Linked DNA regions of Homo sapiens: region 2 is linked to region 1. The links are contacts of gene promoters, found by promoter capture Hi-C in blood cells and fetal thymus (Javierre and others, 2016). All regions are on one chromosome and are shown on one strand. Each heading gives the region's core, a stretch centred on a gene start or on the middle of the fragment in contact. The rest is flanking DNA. Distances are from core to core; before and after follow the strand shown.

What was found. Contacts are between HindIII fragments. The CHiCAGO score rates a contact against its expected background, and 5 or more counts as called.
Region 2: a fragment that was not itself captured here is called in contact with the fragment with the promoter of GNA14 in region 1 in 1 of 17 cell types (endothelial precursors); the score reaches 5.5 in endothelial precursors.

Annotation. Positions count from the first base shown.
Region 1 is chr9:77,644,832-77,651,787 of GRCh38, forward strand. It overlaps GNA14 (G protein subunit alpha 14), which reads right to left and starts at 3,491. Exons shown (of 7, transcript NM_004297.4): 1 at 2,839-3,491. The coding sequence starts at 2,962. The HindIII fragment of the contact is 2,117 bases long and covers 1,753-3,869 here.
Region 2 is chr9:77,745,843-77,752,798 of GRCh38, forward strand. All of the region lies in intron 5 of GNAQ (G protein subunit alpha q), which reads right to left. Among named protein-coding and RNA genes, the nearest start is that of GNA14, 100 kb to the left of the region's middle. The HindIII fragment of the contact is 592 bases long and covers 2,620-3,211 here.

The sequences.
Region 1 (6,956 bases), core at 2,241-4,740:
CCTTATTTAATAGCTATTGTCCTGACACTTTCTCCCTATGCTGATCAGTACTCACCAATGTTCTTATCAGAACTTTTTTGTCCTACTTTTATGCAAGGAACTGATAAGAAATTTCTTTCTACTAAATTCAACCATCTCCTTTATTTTCTCCATCTCTTTCTGATGAGAAAGTGTCACACCAACATCTTGCAATTATTAGCCTTAACCAAACAACAGCTTTTATCTTTCCCTAGTAGACACTGACCTGTGCTTTTATTAAGCAGAAACAGGATACTGCACTTCAGAAACATCCTCACATCATTTTTTTGCAAAAGCATGCTTCATTGTGAAAGAGATGGTGTCTTTGGGGGTCATCCCATACTCCACAAAAGGATTCCAAACTCCCATTTGCAAAGTGAGGTTTTTAACTGAGGCACCTGAGCAGTGGATGCTCTAATCTACCCACTAGAGAGATGGGTGAATTTTTCACTCGAATTGCATGACTTCAGACAAAATGGTGCACATCCTCCCCTAATTCCTGTCACTTCTGAGTCATTGGCTCTTCCTTGAGAAGAAATGGAGCTATGCCCCAGGACTTTACAGATTGAAATAAATCAGAGGTTTTGAAGTCCATCCTTGGAGTTCTGAACGGCTCTGTGTGGTTTAGAAACTATTTTTCACAGGAAAGTTTTCACTAAGGGGATATGCTAGTCACAACTCCGCAAGATGAAAATGGGAGTTTCCAGAGGTCAGACAGTGCCTCAAGGTGGTAGGAGGAGGGTTGGAGCAATGGCCTGGGAAGATAAAGAAGACCCTCGGGTCACCCTGATTAATGTGACTTTCAGAGCAAACAATTTACCTACAAACATTTCTCCCCTAGTTTGTGGGTAAATGCGAGAATTTTACATCAAACAGGCTTATTACCAATACAGTACAGCTCAGCTGACTACACAATTTTTCATACAAAGAGCCAGCATTTGTCAAGCTCCTGGTATATTCTGGACACTGTACTTCATACATTGACACAAATCAAAGCATTGCAAAATGAAATAGGGTTCAGCCTGCCCTTATAAAGAAAAAAGTTACATACGCAACTAAACCCCTCTGGTTTGTGGGGTTCAGGGCAAAAGTACAAAGCCCCGCACCCATAGTTATTTTCTAGTGTTAATCAAGCTAGCAAATTCTCACGTATTCCTCCTCCCTTGACAAAGGTAGCTTTATAACAGCCTAGAAGGCCAGGGACAATTTAGAATTTTCAGACTTTTCAAAGTTATGGGTCAGACACAGAAATAGCAGACCTGGCCAATGAACAGAGCCCCTTCCCTTCCCCACCCAAGCTCCCTCTCTCCTAGGGGGGCCTCTTGGGCACCCACGGGGACTCCCTCCACTCCTACCCAGCCCACATTTCCAAGCACTTTTACGCCCCAGCAAACAGCTGCCCCTTTGTGAGCTCTCCAGGGATCAGGTCTGCCTTCTTTTCTAGGGCTCAGGCCTTAGAAGCTGGTATGGGTCCCTTTGGGCTGGGTATTCATTCCATCCAGGTCTTGGGAGGGAGGGGGCAGCATGGTCTCTGGGTAGCAAGCCCCTTTGGACCTACAGACTTCCAGCTCTGTGGGGAGGGGCACACCCCCCCCCAACCCCCAGAAGGCCAGACTGGGCCCTTTAAACCCAGGGGATAAGGATAAGGGGGTTCTTCCGCCCAGGTCTGAAGGCCATACTGGCTGAGAGCCTTCTCTATATTACACTAACTAGATCAACTTTTTCTTTCCTTGAAGCTTTCTGGGAGGGTGATTCCTATACAAGGAATAAAGATGAATAAATAGATGGTATAAGAGAAGATTCCTGTTCAAAAGGGGTGAAAGAAAAAAAGTTGAAATCTTTGTGGCTATCTAGAAAAAAATTGACAGCTGATATCATGGTCTGAAAGGTAGAAAAGGTAAAATATTCCTCAAACAGCAAATGTGTTGACAGCGTTCTAGAAAGTCTGAGATGGGATCCTTGCCTCATGGCATAACTTGGGCAAACCTTAAACTGTGTTCTTTCTGTGTTTGAAAGTGGATGTCCTACCCAGACCTTTGCAGAGACACCAAAAGAGCTGGATGAAGACCTGCCAGAGGCACCAGGGCAGCCAAGCTGAATCCTAGGACGTGGACACACTGAGTCAAGCTGGGCAAGGGAGGTTTGGGTCCGCTGCAAACACAAAGGCCTGAGGGACCCCCATGGGAGGCAGGCATAGGAGCTCACGGTCAGAGGAGCAGCAACGGCATGGGCTTCACCCCCACAGCTGACCTAGCATCGGCTTTGCCTTTTCTCAATCAGGGCAAGTTGGTCAGTTCTCCAGGCCTCCATGTTTTAATTCTCTAGAATAGCGATATCACCTGCCCGCATCACCAGGTGGTGATGCCCTTAAGAACTTAGCACGATCTGGCACATGGTAAATTCTCAAGATGCTTCATCTAGAACTGAAAGCGTACGGGTCAGAGCTAGCGCTGAACCCAAGATGTGGGTCACCACAGACCCCAAGCTGGGTGTGCTGCGGGCGGAGGAGTGGACGGGGTTTTGAGGAGAGGGGCACACCGGAACACATAAGGTACAGCGGTCAAGAGGTTAAGTGTTACAGGTCCCTATCCTGTTTTGGGGCAGGGGAAGGTGTTGCTTTTGCAAGTCGCCCAGCCAGAGATGGAAAGAACAGGCACCTAAGGCCCCAAGTTGCTGGCATCCGTGAGCTCCGAGGGGGAGAAGGACGAAGCCGCCCTGCACCCCGCTGGGCTCCAGGGCCGCGCGGGTGCCAGTGGAGAGGCCGGGAGGGCTCGGAAGAAAAACGCCCGGCTCACTGGAGTCGGAGACGCAGCCACTCACCCAGCAGCAGCAGCTTAAGCTCACGGCGCGCGTCCTTCTTGTCCCGACGAAGCTGTCGCTCGATCTCCGCGCTGATGCGCTGCGACTCCTTCTCCTCCGCGGACAGGCAGCAGCAGCCGGCCATGGTGCGCTCAGCTCAGTACCCGACGGGGCGACGCGGCCCCGGGCACCCGAATCCTCGGCCCGGCCGCTCACCCGGCCAGCATGCGACGGGCACAGGGGTGTGGAAAGAAAAGACGGGGGCCGACTTGAGCTTTGGAGTAAGACGCCTGGACCTCCGAGGCTCAATCCCCCTTCGAAAGTCGGCTCTGAGGCGGGGTGAATGCCGAGCGCTGGGAACGCTCGAGTGCACCCCGGATCCGGGCTCAGCCCGCCCCACTCTCGCTCTGGGGAGGAGGAGGGCGAGTCGAGAAGTTGGGAGCGTTGCTGGCCCCGGGAAGATGCGCGCGCCCCTTGGCACAGGAGCCGGACAGCAGTCGGGGGCGCAGACGAGTTGGAACGTCGGTGCTCGGGGGAGAGTAGGATCTCCTGGGCCTAGGGGTGTCCCCAGGCGGGAGGTAGGCGCGGAGTGGGTTGGAGGCAAAGGACCTGGCTGGCCTTTGCCTGGAAAGTTCTGAAAACCTCAGCAGTGACCGCAGACTAAGACTGAGTGGAAAGGTTCCCGCTAGCGTTTGTGGCTCTAAGTGGCAGGAGGAGGCGGAGCATCTTGAACCTGCAGCCCTGGCGTCTGCTGGACTTGCCCTTCTGGGCACCCCAAGCCGAAGGCGCCTGGAAGTGAAAGGGGACGAGCAGGGGGCGCGGAGCTGGGGGTGGGAGCTGGCACCTCTAGGAGCAGCTCCCACACTTGCCTCCCTGGCTGGGGCGTCCCGGCCAAGGTTTGCTGTAATCTGCGCGTCTGGCCGCCAGGCACCGGGTTCCGACAGGTGAGTGAGTTTCGCCAACTCACTCGCTCGGAGAAGGCGGCAGCAGGCTGGAAGAGGAGCGGCGCCAAGCGTCTGTTGCGGGACACAAAGCCCCGGACCTGAAGTGGAAGCTTGCCCACCAGCTTCACCACCACGCACACCCGGATTTCCTAGACTGGCTCCTTCCGCTTCCCGGACGCCCCGGCCCAGCTCGGGCTTGGCCAAAGCCCTTGGTCAGCTCGGCAATTTGCCTGTAAAGTGTGGCTGGGCCTGAGCCTGCTGGCTCTGAGCTCGGAGAAGGAGCCGCCGCTGGGTTCAGTTATAAGAGAACTGCAAGAGCCCAGGGTAAATATCCTCTCGGTCTCCGGACGAGGGGGCTGGGGAGAAAGGGAACGGCTGATTGCTTTGCATTTTATGATGGGAAAGACACCTGCTTTGTAGAAAGGGCTGATACGTTCCTAGTAGCACCTGGCAAGTTTCCTGCCCAGCCCTGAAGCCTAACAGCCGCCTTGCGATTGTGTCCGCACTGACACCTTGGCCTGTATCCTGGACCGTCGGGGTCAAGTTTGAGCAGCATTAATAAAAACTTTAAAAGCACCTCTTAGTACTTAAGTGACACGATAAAATGCATATTACAACATCTGACTTTTGTCTGTGTAGATTTTGATGCAGAAAAGGGAAGGTGGGGAGAGGGGATCCTATTGGCCACAGCAATGAACGTTCTTTCCTTCTCAAGTCAGTATAGGCCATATGCTAATGGGGCGTTAGGCAATTAGCTAGCGCTTCCTCTACTAAGAGCAGGCATAAGTGCCTTTCATTTGAGTAGCATATATTTTATAAATTCAAACTGAGGAGCACATTGAGTGGAATGGTACGTGTCATTATATAAAGAAGTTGGTATCGCGATGCTATCTGGCTGCATGTTCTTATTATTTTACAGTTTAAGAAATGTAGAGGAATCAGACATTAAAAATGTGCATACATGCTTTAATGTGTGACTATTTTAGTTTTCTTGCAGGCATAAATTGACAGTAACAGTGACCCCTACAGGAAAACTCCTGGACATTTCAGATTTGATCTTTGGCCATTTAATAGCCTGTTTCTTCTCTCTTAGCTCTTACGGATTCATTTACAATTTGAGAATAAGATCTCTTGGCTTCTCAAAGTCATGGTTGCATCATAATTGTTATCATTTAAAAATTATAAAAAATTTTTAAATGATTAAAACTAGGGCAAATTTGAACTCTTACGTTAACGGGAATTACTGATACTGACCTATTAGGTTTAAAGTTGGCAAGATTTCAAAAACAGTTATGAAACATATTGATTAGGGCAAATCTGTACAACTTTCCTGGGCTAGTCAGCTTGGCAGTATATATCTGAAGCCTTAAACATGTCCGTCCCCTTCGGCCAAACCAGTAATTTCTCCCTTAAGAAATAACTAGAAAGAAGCCTCATGACTGATGCAAAGGTTTTATTGCCAATACAACAACAAAAACTCACAACCTAAATACCTAACAACAGGGAAGAGATCACTTAAATCATGGTTTATCCATACAATGAGATGTTTTGGAGCCATTAAATATGTGGATATGCGAGTAGTAAACATGTGAATAAATTTGGAGAAAATCCTCAAAATATATTGAATGAAAAAGGCAAGATCCAAAAATATAAAGAGTATGATAAGATTTTAGTATAAGAATACGCATACACATTTTTAAGAGACTGAAGGGACACACATCAAAAAGGTAGCTTGCTGTGAGTCATGGCTGTTTGGTTGATTTTCATTGTTCATTAGAAAATTTGGGCTGGGTGCAGTGGCTCACGTCTGTAATCCCAGCACTTTGGGAGGCCGAGGCGGGCAGATCACCTGAGGTTGGGAGTTCGAGACCAGCCAGCCTGACCAACATGGAGAAACCCCATCTCTACTAAAAATACAAAATTAGTTGGGTGTGGTGGCACATGCCTGTAATCCCAGCTACTCGGGAGGCTGAGGCAGGAGAATTGCTTGAATCCGGAAGGCAGAGGTTGTGGTGAGCCAAGATCACACCATTGCACTCCAGCCTGGGCAACAAGAGCCAAACTCCGTCTCAAAAAAAAAAAAAAAGAAAGAAAAAATTTGGGGCAGCTTGCATAAAATTATTTAGGCTCCACTTTCCTTAACTATAAGATGAGAGGGATAAGCCAGAATAAGCTCAAAAGGATCACCCAACTCTAACATGCATTATTTCTTTGATGACATTCACACTTATCCAAAATAAATTTATTTAAAAATAATCAAAAACCTAAAGTTGTTATTGAGCATCAGCCACTGGTAAGAAACAGAAAACTGGGATATCACAAGTCAATCATTTTTATACTTCTATGTTTTATTCATCTCTGTTTTCCTTATCTGTAGAATCTGGAAGGTAAAATGATAATAATTTTAAGATATTAATTCATTGGAAACATCTTTCCAGGAAGGGGTAGTTTTGAGAAGAGTTCTCAATAAAAGAGAATATTTATTTTCCTAAGTTATTTCAAAAAAGCTGCAATTTTATTTTATTCATCTTGAAGACGAGAGCGCAGACTGGACCTGAGTTTCAGATATCCACCAAGTGTGGGGCTACAGGGGTGAGCTAATTGTCTGATATCCCTCTGAATGTCCACTAGGTCCATACCAGCCCCTGTACCAGGCAGTGAGGATTCAGGTAATAAGACAATTCCAGACTTTCGGTAGAGCTATAGTCTAGTAGAAAGAAGTAAAACTGAGACCCTGAAATCTGAACCTACCCCTTCCTGCTTCCTTCCAGAGAACAGTGAGAGCACAGAGTCACCTGAGGGCGCTCCCCAGGCCTACAGATATGCACAGCAGCCTCATCTTCCATCACTCTCCTGGAACTCTAGACAAATGGAATTTTCTGTTCTCCCTACCTCCTGCCTCCATGCCTCGGTGCATGCTGTTCCATCTTCCAGGAATACCATCTCTTACCCTAGGCAAAATTAGGTAATTTCTTTTTCAATTACATCTCTTCTGAGGAAGCAACTCCAGCCCTTGTCAGTTACATCCATCTTTCCCTACTGCTGGAACACTGTCAACATCTCACTCTATTACACCCGTCTGTTTCTTCTAATCTATGAGTTACTCACAGGTAAAGAGTTTTTCTTACTTATCCTGGTATTCCTAAATTAGCAAGTTTCAGTTGACTAACCTTAAATACTGAAACCAAGAAGAAT
Region 2 (6,956 bases), core at 1,666-4,165, 100 kb after region 1:
ACTTTCAAATGAATACTAAATGAGCATTTCTTGGAATCAAATCTCTAGGTTAAAGGGCCCCAGAAGGGCTGGGGGTGGAAGAAGAAGAAAGAATACCTATACCAAAAGAGATCCTTCCTTAAATTTCAGAATTATCTTAGATAAATAAAAGATTCTAAAAACTTTTCATAGAAAATAGGTCACATATAAAGAATAAGGAAGCCGAAGAGCCATGGATTTTTTGAAAGGGATCATTGGAAGACTATGAAATAGTGTTTTCAGAATGATTTATATCTGAGTCTATACCCAGCCAAAATATCAATTAAGTTAGAGGGCAGAATAGGGATATTTTTAGACATGAATGGAATTTAAAAATTATTCCAAGGGTTCCTTGGATCCTTACTCAGAAAGCTACAGAAGGATATGTCCTAGTAAAACAAGGAAATAAGCCAAGGAAGAAAACAACATAGGATCTAGAAACAGGGAACTCAACACAAGAAAGATGTAAATGAACTCCTGGGGCAGCAGTGAAGCAAGGTCCCAGGATGACAAATGTATAAAATGCAACGGAACAACCAGTCCTGATTAGAAAAGACAAAGCCAAAAGGGAGATCTCTGATTTAAAATGAACAAAATGGAACTGATATATTATCTTATATGTTGACCGTGTTTTGAAAGATTTCATAGATCTGTCAGTGAATTAGAAAAGAATCAGCTAGAGATATACACACACAAAGAAACAAAGAAAATTAAAATGTAAGGCAATTAACTCGTGGGAAAAAAAGTTGACCAAAAAAATAAACGAAATTACAGCTGCTCATCAATGAACAATATTTACATTGTTAAATAGTGTAAACAGTGAATTATCAAAAAATTGGGTTATATAACTGTTGAAAGGATGGGAGAAAAATGATGTGGGAATGTTAAGACAGCATGATTTTTACCTACCATAATAGAAGATAATACAATCGACAAATCAAGAAAAAAAGAGTAAAAGCACACCATTTTGAGACACGAAGACAATAACAGAAACTAAGAGTTAGGAGTTAAGGGCAGTCCCCCTGGCTATCAGGAGGTGGTGGTGATGGTGACTGAGAAAGTGCTCTTTAAAAAATTTTGTCTTTTTTAGTTGTTTGGCTTTGTAAACCATTATTTGATAAAAATACAAACTGATTGATTTTTAAACTTAAAAAAAGATATACTGGTTCAGGTGTAAAATACAGTTCTGGGAAGAAGATACATATGAAACAGCTGGTGGTAGTTACCCAAATTTTAAAATGGGGGAGGTAGAGTGGAAACACAGGAGAGTTTTCACTCTCTTCTGTAGCCTTCTATGTATGTGGAATTTTAAATAATGAACATATATTACCTTAGTTATTAAAATAATAAATATATTCTAAGAAAATAATACATTTATTTTATATTTTAAATGTAACAGAAACATCAAAAGGCAAGACAACAAAGCAGCAGACAAGCTCATTGCTGGGAGTGACTCATGGTGCAGAGTTTGATAAATGTCACAGAGAAAACCAGAACCTTTTAACTCCTACTTTTGATCCTGAATACCCTGTTATGAAGAAGACTTTTCATACTGAAAAAGGTAGAGGAGATCAGTAAAAAGTAAGACTGGGAAGACTACTCTAATGAGATCAAGTATCTTTAACTGAAGACTTGACATTCTAAGACATTATCTAGCTTTAGTTATTACCATTTTCATAAACATCAGTTTATAAGATTAGCAAAGCCAGCAGGAATGGTCCAAAGACCCTTAATTTAAATGAAAAACAGGCACAGAATGGGATGATGCATGGAATGAAGTTTGACATACACTGTATTGAGAAAACTTTAGGTATTCTGAGGGCAGCCTGAAGACTCCATGCACCCACCCATAGCACCAGCTAGACAACAGGAAGAGAAGGCGAGAAAGAATTAGTGACAAACTTTCCTACCTTTAGAATGTGTCTTCAGGTTGTAATTCCCGTGTGGGACCTAATTTCTTGAACATCTGCTCTGCGCTAGGTGCTTCACATGCTACCTCAATTAGTTCATGCAACCTTGTGAGATAAAGACTTAAGTTTGAATTTCCCTGGCTACAAGTCCATGGTTTTTCTATTAAGCCATGTTGGATGGTGTCAATTGGTGACATCATCCATGTGAACATTCCTCATGTTTAGATCTAGCAGGACAATGTGGCATAGAGAGGGGTGGTCAGGAGAACTGAGTTCTTAGCCTGGTCCCAAGGCCACCTCTTGGGAAGTCCTTTCACCACTCTGGGGTCCAGTTTCCAAATCCAGAGTCTCCTCTATCTAACATTTTCAGATGAAATAAAATCCAGTGAAAGACATAATAACGGAATAAATATTTTCAGCTATTATCTTAAATGGATTACTTCAATATTCATCTTTTGTTTAAATCTACATCTCATTTCTCTTTAGGTAGTATCTTTTTGAAAAGCTGTCATTTCAAAGTACTGAAAACCTAAAATCTAGGCAATGAAAGTAGAGTAAATGACTGAGGTTTTCCTAAAATTACCCTGGAAAGATGAGAGGATTCAACTACTGTTCTGGGAAATGGAAATAGCTGTTCCCAGCACTCACTCCTCCCCTGATGCTCCCAATTAACTTTTAAGGACAAGCATGAAGCTTTGTAGAGCTTGATGCCTTCTGCAAGCACTACAGTAAATGTGGGGCATAAATTGCCTCCCATTAAGACAACTGTGGAGGATGACAGAAGTAGGTCAGTTTCAAACAACAGCCTAGCTTAGTAGCCTAAGTGGTATCTGTAATTCTAGGGTTGGGGCATCTTTGAAAGCACTGGCTAAAGGAAAAGTTATTTAACCCTTCTTTGCTGAATTTTCCAGCTCTCTCCACTTCTTGAGAGAAAATGTCAACTGTTATTGTCAGATAGAATATGAAAATAGGTAGCACAGCAAGAACATGACAAATGTTTAATAAATTACAAAGTAAATATAAATGACAAGTGTTTAATAATTGGATTTTGGCCCACAAGTGAGGTATGATCCAGGTACTGGAGCCAGTCCAGATGTTGTATCGGACTGGTCCTGTTATAAGCCAGATTCCACCAGTATAAAAAAGTTGAACACAGGGATGGAATGACTCCTCAGGGTAAGAAAGGGAAAGGGGGAGTTCTGAAGGAAGGCCATATTTCTGGCTGGGACACTGGCTTCTGACAGATTTCCAGTGGTTGACTGCATCCAACACTTCAGGCTTCAAGCTTTGGCTCTAGACCTACCTCCCTGCCCCATGTTCTCGACCTTAGCATTTGGGAAGGCTGTGGGGTCTTCACTCTTCACTGCCGCCAGGTTCTCAATCCTTTCCATAGTTTTGGCATTTTCTCTCTCCCCCTGGCTGCCATGGACCCATTCTTGCTTTGGGTCTAAGTCAAAACATCCCACTCAAACCAATACCTTGTGAGGAATGAGGCTCCACTGTACAGAAGCAACGAGCTGATGCCAGTTAAGACCTTATAAAGTGAGGGGTCTTGGGCATTTCACCCCCGTGTACTCCTTACTATAAATAAACACCCTTAACCAGGTGGTAGAATGTTATTCAGGAAAACAGGCAGAAGGCTTTAAATATGTTAGCAGATCCTTCTATCCTTCCTTTTCTCTTTGTTTAGGTTTCCCAGGAATGTCTTGTACAGGAACAAGTTTTTGCTGAGAACTGAGGACTTCAGAAACATTTATTTCCATAAATAATATACTAAATGCATATAATTTTTCTCTAGTTGCTAATACTGGGACTTGGATGGGTCTTCCAGGACAATAGGTGAAGGGTTAATTCCACATACTATACACAAATTGGTATTTCTCTAAAATAATGTTTTCAAACTAATGATAACAATCCACAGTAAGAAATACAGTTTACACAGCAATCCAGTATATTCACACACAGAAACACAGACATATAAAACTAACATTTCATGAAACCATACTTTTCCTTACAACATGCAATGTACTCTATTCTCAATTCCATCCCATCCTCCCTATAAAAAAATGCTAACAAGACCTATTAAATTGATTTTACGACCCAGTAAATGGGTTTTGATGTGATGAAAAAAATATTGTGTATATTTTTTTCATACATTGTAATTGTTCATATTCTGTATTTCTTCACTAATTTAGACTGTTTTATTCTCAATTATACTACAATAGCAAATATTTTGCAAGATTGGGCTAAAAAGTCTCTGTGGCCAAATGAATATATAGTTTTGAAATCTGGCTGCAGATGTGCTGATTGGCAAAGAACATTTAATTAGTCACATAAGGTACATCTTTAAAAAATATTATTTCCACTGAAAATCAGCTATAAACATATTTTCTTTTATAAATACCAAATTAATATTAAAGAAGAAATCTTGCAAAATTCTTTCTACCAATACCAAAAGATTTCTAATGCATGGACTAAAAACTCTGTTATAGGATTATCAGAAACAGATGTTTTTGATATTCAATCTTTCTTAAATGTAAAATATGAAAACCAAGCAAACAAAGCATTCTGCCTCTTCCATGCAGTTTTAATCATAATACAGTTTTACTTAATTAGCAAATACAGATGGGGCCTTAATAAGAACATTTTAAATGTAAGAGGTTTTTGTGATAATATAATCCCACTAGTAATGATCATGTTATCATCATTATGTAATTTAGAAAATTTATGAGTCAGTGAAAGTCATTTTCAAGATGGTATACAGAAGTCGACCTCATAACCTCCATTCCAGCCAAATGGCACAGCTCAAACTTCCTGAATATGCTTACATATTTTTTGTTTTATTACCTTTATTTCTAACTCTTTCTTGAAGTCTTCCCAGTCATCAAGCTGGAAAAAAAAATCCCTCCCTCCCCTGAAATCACGTATGGCTTGTTAAGAACACTTGCTATATTAACCTCCCTGGGCTTTTCTTTGTAATTGGTCATGTAAATATTATACCAACCCTGACTGACTGAGCTTCTTGGAGCTCAACTCTGTATCATACTTATTTCTATACACTCCCCCAACACCCAAACAACACCTTGCTGTGGCAGGTGATCAATAAATTTTTGTTGGTTAAAATGAACATTTTGAACAACAGTGAAAATAGGCATTTATCTAACCTGTGAAGATGGTGCTACTGTACAGTGCTGTAAATACATACCAACTCATGAGTCTAATAAGTGGAGACCCAGCACTGCTTGGCCTTTTCAAGTTTTTCCCTTTTGGTGTATTCCTTTACAAATCTTTCCCCGCTTTATAGACTAAATAGCATCCATCATGTTAAGTCAGTGAATCCCATTTAGCAATTAAAGGTGATTACAAGAGCTATCAGGCATCTGCTTTCAATATTATTCCAGGCATGGGAAATTAGTAATGGCCTGCCTTTTCCCTCAAACCACTGCCTAATGCCTTGATTTTTGGAAGATTTTGCCAAACCTGCTTTGTGGTCTTGCCTTGCTAAGATCTGGAAGAATTTCATATTTTCTCTGAAAGTATTGCTAAAAAGAATAAAAATATCCTAGAATGGGTTGGGTGGTTTCCCTAATTGAATACATGGGCCTGAAACACTCCTGTATTGAAACTAACTCTATATACATGGCATGTAACCAGTAAAATGAAAAGCAGATGCTGTAATTTTCACGTAATAAATTCATATGCAATCTCTTAAGATAGTTGAGTGTACTTCAGAAAGCCCAGTAGAGAAAAGACATGAATAAGTGCGGTTAGCCTAGAAGCGGACAGAAATTTTATAATGGGGTGGGTAGGTGGGCTGGGGATGGACAGAGACGTGGAAAGAGCTACAACCTCACTTAAAGCAATGCTGCCCCCATGTGGATACCAAAAATTAGAATCTGTAACTCAGTCAACAGCTCTTTATTCTCCTTAGTAATAAGACCTTCCACTTCCTGTAATTTCAATTTGATGGCTGTTGCTAGGACAACTAGGAAACGAGGCAAGGAACAGACAGACCTCCAAAAAACAAACAAACAAACAAACAAACAAAAAAAACAAACGAAAAAAACAGGTCACTGAAGTGAAGTTACTATATTAATTCTAACTTCTAACAGGAACACAGGAACAGTGGCCCTGCCAAGGGAAATGCGAAACTGAATCTAAAATGAGGTGCCACTGTCCTGAAAAATGATGGTTGAGGTACACAGTGCTCATGTTCAGGCTGTGTGATAGACTCATCTATCAAAGAGTGCTTGTAAATGCTTCCCTTGGAATTGGATGACAAAACAACTTTATCTCAGTATGCACGCAGTGGGAAGGAAAAATTCATTTTTTAAAACCTGTAGTCACTTTAAGTTAATCACTCTGACAAGTATTTCTGTTTGCAGTTGAATTGTCAAACAGATAATAAAACAAAATAAACATGGTGTAGAGAGGTCTCTAGGCAAAACTGCAGTTAATGTACCTCGGTAAAAATGGCAGGAGTATTCCAAAGTATTACAGAAATGTGAAAACTTGAAAAGCTGAAAAAGGTTAAGATGAGTTCTAATGTTTCATTTAGATCCTTATTAGGAAGTGACTACTCTATCTGAGTCTATACTGACTAAAAAGTGTCTTGTTCACGTGCTGCAATAACTTGCACCGGGAGGTAGAGTAGGTACTGAATGTGTGCTTCACACTTCCCCTCAAGGACTCAGAAATGAAGCTAGAAGGGAATATGGAGTTCATTCACATCCAATCTCCTCTTTTTACAGCTGATCTAACTGCAACCTGCAGAGGTTAAGTAACTTGCTCCCAAACCCACAAAGTTATTTCTGGTGAAGCCAAGACTAGAACTCGGTTTTCTCAACCTTCATTCCAAGGCTCTTTTGTCTCCTTGTGTTCTTAGATGGAAATGCCTGTGTCTGTTATTACACCTCAACACTGAAGTATGTGTGCAAAGTCACTGGGTTTCTACAGATGTTATTCTGCATGTAAATTTTATCTTATTTCTCCCCAAGTGACTTTAAATTTGGAGCAATTTCAAAATTA